2 separate regions of the Homo sapiens genome follow, and region 2 is linked to region 1. Evidence: promoter capture Hi-C in human tissues and cell types (Jung and others, 2019). All regions are on one chromosome and are shown on one strand. The core of a region is centred on a gene start or on the middle of the fragment in contact, and the rest is flanking DNA. Distances in the headings are between cores, read along the strand shown. Region 1 holds the start of LYZL2 (lysozyme like 2). Region 2 overlaps ARHGAP12 (Rho GTPase activating protein 12).

What was found. Contacts are between HindIII fragments. The study calls those that stand out against the background at their distance.
Region 2: a contact is called between a fragment that was not itself captured here and the fragment with the promoter of LYZL2 in region 1, in 1 of the 25 tissues and cell types used here (dorsolateral prefrontal cortex).

What each region holds. Positions count from the first base shown.
Region 1 is chr10:30,628,127-30,632,770 of GRCh38, reverse strand. LYZL2 (lysozyme like 2) reads left to right here and starts at 3,018. Exons shown (of 5, transcript NM_183058.3): 1 at 3,018-3,178. The HindIII fragment of the contact is 10,435 bases long and covers 1-4,644 here.
Region 2 is chr10:31,824,925-31,830,026 of GRCh38, reverse strand. It overlaps ARHGAP12 (Rho GTPase activating protein 12), which reads left to right. Exons shown (of 20, transcript NM_018287.7): 11 at 3,642-3,723. Among named protein-coding and RNA genes, the nearest start is that of ARHGAP12, 100 kb to the left of the region's middle. The HindIII fragment of the contact is 4,381 bases long and covers 1-3,440 here.

The DNA.
Region 1 (4,644 bases), core at 1,769-4,268:
AACGTAAGTTTCTGATTCACTTGATTAAATACCTAGGCGTGTGATTGTTGATTTATATAAGTCTGTGTTTAACTTTATAAGAAACTGCCAAACCGTTTTCCAAAGTGACTGTACCACTTTGCATTTCCACCAGTGATAAATGGGAATTCTTACGGTTCTCTGTCTTCATCATCATTTGGTGTCGTCTGATTGATTTTAGCAATTCTAATCAGTGAGAAGTGATATCTAATTGTGGTTTTAATTTATACTTCCCTGGTGACAATGATATTGATCATCTTTTCATATGCTTATTTGTCATTTGGATTTCTTATATGATGAAGCGTCTGCTTAAATCAGTTGCCCATTTTTTAATTGGGTCATATGTTTGCTTATGGTAAAATTTTAAGAGTTCTTTATATATTCTGAATACAAGGCTTTCATCAGACATGTGATTTATAAATATTTCTTCCAGTCTGTAGCTAGTCTTTTCATTCTCTTAACAGTGTCTTTCAAAGAGCAAACATTTTTAATTTTGATCAAGTCCAACTAAACGTTTTTTTTTTCTTTCATGGATTGTGCTTTTGTTGTTGTGTCTAAAATGTTATTGCCAAACCCAAGTCCTGCTGATTTTCTATGTTTACTTATAGAATTTCATAGTTTCATTTTTTACTTTTATGTCTTTGATCCATTTTAGATTAATTTTTATATGAGATATAAGGTATGTATTCTTCAATATGCCTTCTTTTATTTTGTTGGTTTTGAACATGTGTTTTGAGCATAGACAGTCTTATTTTAGTACCATTTGGTGAAAAGAACATCATTTTTCCATTGAATTTAATTAGCATCTTTATAAAAAATGTTGTTGACTAAATATTCATAGATCTATTTCTGGGTTCTCTCTTCTGTTCCACTGGTCTATGGGTCTATCTTCCCACCAATATCATTCTCTCTTGATTACTACAGCTTTATATTGTCTTAAAATCATGTAGAATGAGTCCTTCAATTTTGTTCTTTTTCTGAATAGTTTTGTTTATTGTAGTCCATTTGCCCTTCCGTATAAGTTTTAAGATCATCTTATTGATATTTTCAAAACAATTTTCTGGGATTTTAATTGGAATTCCATTAAATCTATAGATTAAATCTTAACAACATAGAATTTTTAAATTCAGGAACATGGTATTTCTTTTCCACTTAGGTCTTCTTTAGTTTTTCATCTGTCTTACAGTTGTCAGAATATATATCCTGCACAGATTTTGTTAGGTTTACATTTAAGTACGTCATATTCTTGTGTGTGCTGTTGTAAATGATATTTTTTATTTTAGAAGAATCTAAAATATTTTGATTCCTAGTATATAAGAATAGAAATGGCTTTTGTATATTTACTATGTATCCGAAAACTTGCTAAACAAGCATTTTTGAAAAAAAAGACAATCTGTCTCTATTTTCTCATTGACTATAAAATTCCTATTTCAAAGCACTTTGAAAAAGATGTTTGAAGAAAAACCTATGTATTTTCTCGTATTATAGACAATTCACAAGAAAAAGCACACAGGCCAGATGCCGTGGATCATGCCTATAATTTCAGCACTTTGGGAGGTTGAGGCGAGCAGATTGCTTGAGATCAGGAGTTTGAGACCAGTCTGGCAGACATGGTGAAACACCATCTCTACTAAAAATACAAAAATTATCTGGGCGTGGGGGCACATGCCTGTAATACCAGCTACTCGGGAGGCTGAGGCACGAGAATCGCTTCAACCTGCGAGGTGGAGGTTGCAATGAGCCGAGATCACACTACTGAGCTCCAGCCTGGACAACAGAGGGAGACTCTGTCTCAATTAAAAAAAAAAAAAAAGAGAGAGAGAGAGAGAAAAAAGTCCACAAATGGCTTCTGAAGATAAGAAAAGATGCTCAGACAGCTTGAAATAAGGGAAGCTGAAATTGAAACTTTGCTGACAAATTATGTTTCATCTCTAATATTAGCAAATATCTTAACCTTTGGTAATAGGGTATGCTAGCCATCTTCGTCATACAAGCCCACGTGGAAGGCAATTTGGCAATATCTAGCAAAATTACAAAATTACAGTCCTTAACCCAGCAATTCAATTTCCAGGAATGTATCCTACAGATATTCTTGCAAATGTACAAATGACAAATGTACAAGATTACTAATTGTAATATGTTTATCATAGAAGAAAAAAATACCTTAAGTGTGAGTCAATATGGAATTGGCTAAATATGTTATATCTACACAATGTAATACTATATAAACTTAAAACTAGATTTCAACAAGATCTTTGCATTATTTGCAGATGGAATTTAATAAAATACAATAATTAGTTAGGTACAACTAACAACAAACTTATACTGAGATCTACATATTCCAATGAGAATTCATTTCAAATGTGTCATTAAATCTGAACACAGAAATAAATGGACCTTCAAACTAGCTCTTTATTGAGTCACAAAGTGTTAAGCCAAATTTTTAAAAAACAATGAAATCATGTTAATTATACATAAAAATTTTTTATTTCTTTTGTGGCCCTCCTTTGACAATATTTTATTAATTAACAATATAACTATAGCAAAGAAATGTGCTGTTAATTAATTTTTAATGTTAATTTCACCTCTCATTCATTTTCAGATTTTAGTTTTGTGTATGTTGATAATTTATGTAGCATATTAGTACAGAGGTACAGAAGTGTGATTTATAATTTAATATACATCTAAAGAGGATACATGCTTAACTTTATTAATGGAATTTGTGATAAAGTTTGCAGACTGTTGCCTTAGAGAAGAGCTCTCACTTGGACGGGAGGCCCTGGCCAAGTTGTGTAGTGAGGACAGTTGTTGAGAGGAAAAGAGAAAAAACGAGAGGTATTAAGGCCCAGAAGAGAGTTAGCACCTGCTTCAGAACACAAGCGTGCAGGATGATATAGCTTTTAGTGCCAAGAAGTAGAATTCTAGCATCTCTAGGTGGTGAGAAACAAAGGACTAAGAATTTTTCTTTCTCTAACACTCTAAAGAAAGGTTCTTGAGCTAGGAAAGGATTACTCGAGCCTTGTTAGAATCAGACATGGCTTCAGGGGATGCAGGACGCTCCCCTGAGCTGCCTGTCACCGACTAAGTGGAGCAGTGTTTCTTCCGCAGACTCAACTGAGAAGTCAGCCTCTGCGGCAGGCACCAGGAATCTGCCTTTTCAGTAAGACCTAAATTACTCTTATGAAGCCACCTGTCCCTGAGAACCAGCAATGGCAGGTTCTTGAAGGATGTAGAACATGATGCTTGGGGTTATCATTGCTACGGGTTTTGTTTTGACTTGTTTGAGATCAGTTAACATTCTAAGGCAGAGGATGGAAACCAACCTTATTTGTAAGCTCTGCATCTTTTTTTTTTTTTTTGAAACAGGATGTCACTCTGTTGCCCAGGCTGGAGTGCAGTGGCACAATCACAACTCACAACAGCCTCAACCTCCCAGCCTTAAAAGATCCTCCCACCTCAGCCTCCCAAACAGGTGGGACCACAGTCACACACCACTATGCCTGGCTAATTTTTGTGTATTTTGTAGTGACAGAGGTCTACCTTTGTTGCCCAGGCTGGTCTCAAACTCCTGGCTTCAAGCAATTTGCCCTTTTCACCCTCACAAAGTGCTGAGATTACAGGTGTGGGCCACCATGCCCAGCCTAAGCTCTGCATCTTAAACCTCGTTTGTCTGTCCCTCACAGCTTAGCACAATGCTGTACACCACGGACTGGCATGATCTCTCTGAAAAGGGCCAGATAATAATATGTTAGGCTTTGTGGTCTATACAGCCTCTAACACAGCTACTCAACTCTGCCACTGCAGCAGGAAATCAGCCACCAACAATATATTACCAAATGATGAGAGTAGCTATGTTTCAATAAAACTTTACATACAAAAGCGGGCCTGGTTTGCCCACGCTTGCTATTCACGTTTGTAATGTACATGCCCCTCATGCAATGCAGTTCCTTATCTTATTGCTTAGTCACCTTAAAGCCCTGCTTGTTACTCGGTGCGGTGGCCTTGCTGATGACTACTTATCCCTGTTTTGGGCCTAGCCTTTCAATGCAGGAATCCAGCCCCAGGGAGAGAAACTAATGACTAGAGAAGTTTCCAGGCAAGTGCAGAAAATGACACGGGATGAACATATGTAAGAACATCAAGTTCAGGATCCCGAGTAGTTGTCAGAAATTTCACTTCACCCCATCCCAGCAAGGCTGTTGTGTTTGGGGAAGACATTATTTTAAGAGGGGAGGAGATTGTGGAAAATCAGTAGGCAGCAGGAGACAGCGCTCTTGATCCTACTCCCATTTCAGACGATTCTATGGGGGCCTCTTTATTGTCCCTCTGCTCCCCCAGGTGCTTTCCTCCTTTCATGAGGCTTTGTCCTCCATCCCTCTTGCTCCCCAGTCAGGTGCCAGACTTTTAGGAGGCCGCCCGGAGCACTGGTTGTGAAGCTTAGCAAAGCAATGCATTTGCAATCTAAGATAAAACACTAGTACTTTGGAAGCAATGCTCCCACATTTTGAAATGCATCAAGAAAAGAAAAGGAAAGATTAGGTGCTTAATCTTCACCCTTCAATAAACCCCCAAACGATGAATCTTTTTTTTTTTGAGGCGGAGTCTCGCTCTGTCGCCCAGGCTGGA
Region 2 (5,102 bases), core at 1-2,500, 1.2 Mb before region 1:
TGTTTTACATTTTTTTGTAAATCTTTAGTGTTTGGCTTAATGGAAAACAGATGAATTTTCATCTCTGCTTGCAGTCTGTTGTGACATATTATTTTGTTTGAAGTATGTGAAAAAAATCCTTTTCACAACTAAAGGTGGAAAATGGAGGAATGTTTTAAGATATGTTCAGATAATTGTGCATTTTCCTGCTGCTCCGAAACTCTACAAATGGTAGTTTGTTGAGGGTTAGTTGTAGTGAAGACTCTGAAAAACTGCCGGTGAACGGTTCATACTCAGTTACATTAAAAGCCGTTGGTCTTTGTTGCACCTGAGTGAATCTTTGCCCATGCTTAATTTTATAATATCTTGTAGGTCATTTGTAAAATACTAGTTCACTAACTTTGCTCATTTCTCAAATGTTTACACATTTTATTTATAATATCAAAGAATCATACATCAGTACTGTCAGAAAAGTATTGGGACGTTGTCAAATCCATTGTAGCAGATGCCAGGTGTTCCAAAGTTCTACTTTCTGTTTGAAAGCTTCAATTTTTTTTATGGTGGTAAAAAAATACATAAGTTTGCTATCTTAACCATTTTTAAGTGTACATCTCAGTGGTGTTAAGTATATTCACATTGTTGTGCAACAGATCTCTAAAACCTTTTCATCTCATAACGCTGAAACTCTATACCTACTAATTCCCTCTTCCTCCATCCCCCAGCCCTTGGTAACCTTTCTGCTGTTTCTGTGATTTTGACTACCTTAGATATTTTGTATTGGTGGAATGATATGTTATATGTATAACTTTTGTGACTGGTTTATTTTGCTTGGCATAATGTCCTTGAGGTTCATTCATGTTGAAAGTTTTGTTGTTGTTGTTGTTGTTGTTGTTTTTGAGACAGAGTCTTGCTCTCTCGCCCAGGCTGGAGTGCAGTGGTGCGATCTTGGGTCACTGCAACCTCCGCCTCCCAGATTCAAGCAATTCTCCTGCCTCAGCCTCCCAAGTAGCTGGGATTACAGGCATGTGCCACTACGCGTGGCTAATTTTTGTATTTTTAGTAGAGACGGGGTTTCACCATTTTGACCAGGCTGGTCTTGAACTCCTGACCTCAGGTGATCCGCCCGTCTTGGCCTCCCAAAGTGCTAGGATTGCAGGCGTGAGCTACCATGCCCAGCCTCATGTTGAAAGTTTTAATTTTTTGTTGTCTATAAATAATATTATTTGTTTTCTTTGAAAACTTCATTTATTTTTAAGATAATGTTTGTGTGCCACATATCCAGGTCTGAATAACTATAGTATGTACATCAGTTGTTTTTTCAGGAGAAAAAATGGGGTTCCAGGAAAAAAAAATGTGACTAATTCACCTTGCAACTAAGTCACGCAAGTGCTTAGTCCTTGAGGCAATAATCGTTATTTTACTATTTATGTATTCAATATTTGTTCTCAGATATATATCTACTAGTTCTACAGTTTTTCTCATTTTGAAAATTGAACTAAAAAAGCTTACTTAAAGTGGAAATAGGCTAATTTAAGTATTTTTCATAGTAGGGAGTCAGTAGATGATATCTAAAGAAATAGAAGACTGAGAATATAAAATGAATTTACAAAAAATTAAAATACTTCCAAAATATCTTCAGATCCAGAAAATGAAATAATGATGACAGAAAAAGCACCATCTATAATATCAATATCAGTAAATGTAAATGGACTACTCATCTATTGAAAGAAAAAGGTGCTCAGACTGAAGCATAAAAAAGCAAAACTTAACTAAATTCTATATGTAAAAGAAACACCTAAAGATGATTCAGAAAAGTTGAAAAAAAAAAGCAATAAGGTGTGTCAAAGGTATAGAAAGTAAAGCAAGACTAGGGATATCAGTAGCAAAGTTCATCCTAGGGAGAGAGCATAAAGCATTATGAAAGTAGTATTTAAAATGGTAAAGCATGTGCAGAAGTCCACAGTGAAGATGTAATTATTAGGAATCACCATTTACCAAATAAAGTAGCATTAACAAACATAAGCAAAAAAATACAGGAAATAAATGGAAACATAGAAACTTAGTAGTAATTAACTTTATTTCACTAGTAGTAATTAACTTTATTTCACTTATCTTAATCCATAAAGTTCAACTAGACATAAAAAGTAATTTAAAAAAAGGTAAGTCTTATTGATAGATATTAAATTCTACATTCTGAAAACAGAAAATAAACCTCCTTTAGAGGTGGTTTTTTTTTTGTTTTTGTTTTTTTTTCTGGGTGACGGAGTCTCACTCTGTCACCCAGGCTGGAGTGCAGTGGTGCAATCTCGGCTCACTGCAAGCTCTGCCTCCCGGGTTCACGCCATTCTCCTGCCTCAGCCTCCCGAGTAGCTGGGACTGCAGGTGCCCGCCACCACGCCTGGCTAATTTTTTGTATTTTTAGTAGAGACGAGGTTTCACCATGTTAGCCAGGATGGTCTCGATCTCCTGACCTCATGATCCACCCGTCTCGGCCTCCCAAAGTGCTGGGATTACAGGCGTGAGCCACCGCACCCGGCCTAGAGGTTTTTATAAAATTGGCCATATGTTTGGCTATAAGGATAGCTTTAATAAATCCCTGCAGTAGACAGATTTGACATTCATTTATCTTCCTAGCAACTGTGTCCTTATATAGGGTAATTTTAATTTATTTTCCTACTTGTAAACACTGATTCATACCTGCTGTTTGAAAAGTACTGTGCTAGGCCTGAGGCAGATAAAAAATAAAAATAAAAACTGTTTTGTTTTTTCAAATAATTTACAATTCCTATGAGAGAGAAACATTTACATAAAAATCTCTAATATGATAAGGGAGAAGTTGAGGGGAATCTGGCTGGGGTGTAATATTCAAAAGCTTTAAAGTTCTAAATGGGTGAACTGATAATACATATGCTGTGTGAGGCGTACCTCTGTATCTGGAGATAGGATAGTAGATAAGTGGACAGTTTCTTTAAAAGCCCCATATTATACCAAAGTCTTAACATTGGTTACCTCTAGAGTATGGATTGAAGAAGAAATGGGATTCCCTTTCCTTTACACATTTTTGTTTTCAGAGTTTTTGCATACCGTATATGTGTTGCTTTTGTGATGGAGGAAACATTTTGTTTTTAAATGTCGTGTGGTCTATCAGTGTACAATTCATTGTATGCCTGTAATGCACCTAGTACCTACTACCTGAGTACTCCAGCCCAATTAGGGGAAGGCAGATCACCAAGAAATGTAACACAGTCTGTATAAAGAATTAGGTGAGTGAGGGAAGCGTGTTTGTCTAATTTTTACTTCTAAGTAAGAATTCTTGATAAATACAATATTCCACTTGTGTGACTTTAAAATAAATTAGTGTCTTTGATCACAAAGTGCTGTATTAATTTCACGTGAACATAATTACATGCGTCATTCATTCATAGTTATTTCTGATAACTTCTCTGATTAACTTCATTTGTTTTGGGGCCTTCATGATCAGGTTTGAACCATAAAATGACTGTAAATTGCATTAGTATCTATCCCCAATAAAAACAATTAAAATGTCAACAAGGCTGTAAATTGTAGATAACATTGATAAGAGCTAAGTAGGTCTTAATTTTTTGAATTTGGCTGAAAGAACTCGAGATTGGAGCTTTAATCGGTCATCTTTATAATTACAGAAAGAACTGGTTGTCTTCTTGGGCGGTGTTGCAGGGTTCATCTTTACTTTTTACCAAAACTCAAGGAAGTAGCACAAGTTGGGTAAGTATTTCTTCTCTTTGGAGATTTTATACATTTAAATTATGTGAATAGTATCGTACCTGAATTTCAGGAGGTAATTTCCAGAGTCCTTATAGTTATAGCTAGTGTGCAAATAAAAATGAATAAAATCTTCTTAAAGATTCATTTTAACTTATGAGAGAAAAAGAGGACTAAGTAGGACAGTCTAATTAGTGGTGTTATTAAAATCAACAGATTCTGTTTTATCCATTCAACTGAAAAGTGGGCTTATTACTTGGGCATTATAGAGAAAATACATTTCTTGATTCATTTTCAGGATGTTAAAGCTTTGCTGTGTTTGTGACTCTGCTATTTCAGATATTTAGTCAGAAAATAAGCAGTAATGTGGCAAGCTGTATCTTGAATTGTGATCTGACCATTGGTTACAAATCAGTGATTGAGGTGTCAGTGTCTGGATTGTCAGCCAGCTTTCAAAAGAAAAAGAAATGTCACATTACTTGTGGGATTTTGAAGCTTTTTATATATTTGAGTGCTTACTATCATTACTCTACTCTTCAGTTATTTGTAATGCAAACATTAAAAATTATAATTTGTGACATATAATAGCTACATTTTTTGAATGCTCATTCTGTATCCCACATATGTTGTCAGTGCAGAGGATTGTGTATATATTGTCTCCTTAACGCTGGGATAGCTATTGCTCTGATTTCGCCCTTCCCCCGTCATAGATGAGAAAATGAGGTATAAAACACTTAAGTATAATAATTTGTTCAAGGTCTTACAGCTACCAAGTGGCAGGTCTGGGTTTAGAACTTTGGCTTTTTGGCTCTAGAATCCATGCTCTGGCTATTTCTAAAAGTTTTTGGTAATTGAGTTTGAAGTGCTAATGCTCAAGTAAAATTTAAAATGAAATTATTCTAAATGTATTTGGTCTACCTCATATTCTACCGTAACCAATATTTTATTACAATTAATGAGTTTCTTTAAAATTAATACAAAACCTATGGATCTTATGTTTGATGAAAGAAAAGTCCATTTATAAAATTTAAGCAAATTTTAGTCATCCACATTTATAATGCAGCCATGCAACATGGTTCTGAACCCCAAATGCCACAGAACACATTATTCCTCAGCTTCTCTGATGAGGAAACCTAAAAATCCACATGAATTGAGCACGGATGTGAACATTCTAGATCGTTTCTTCTGTTTTGTTTTACTAATCTTTTAATTTGCTCCCTGTTCAGCCATTCCAGTGGAAATGACCTGTGAAAGGGTTGAAATTTTGGTTTGATATATCTTAAAGTAAATGGATAATTATGTCTTTCTCCTTTTCCTCGAGGTGAAACATGTGGGGCTCTTTTGTGTTAATGCATTTCTAGAGGACTGTGTAATTGTTTCTT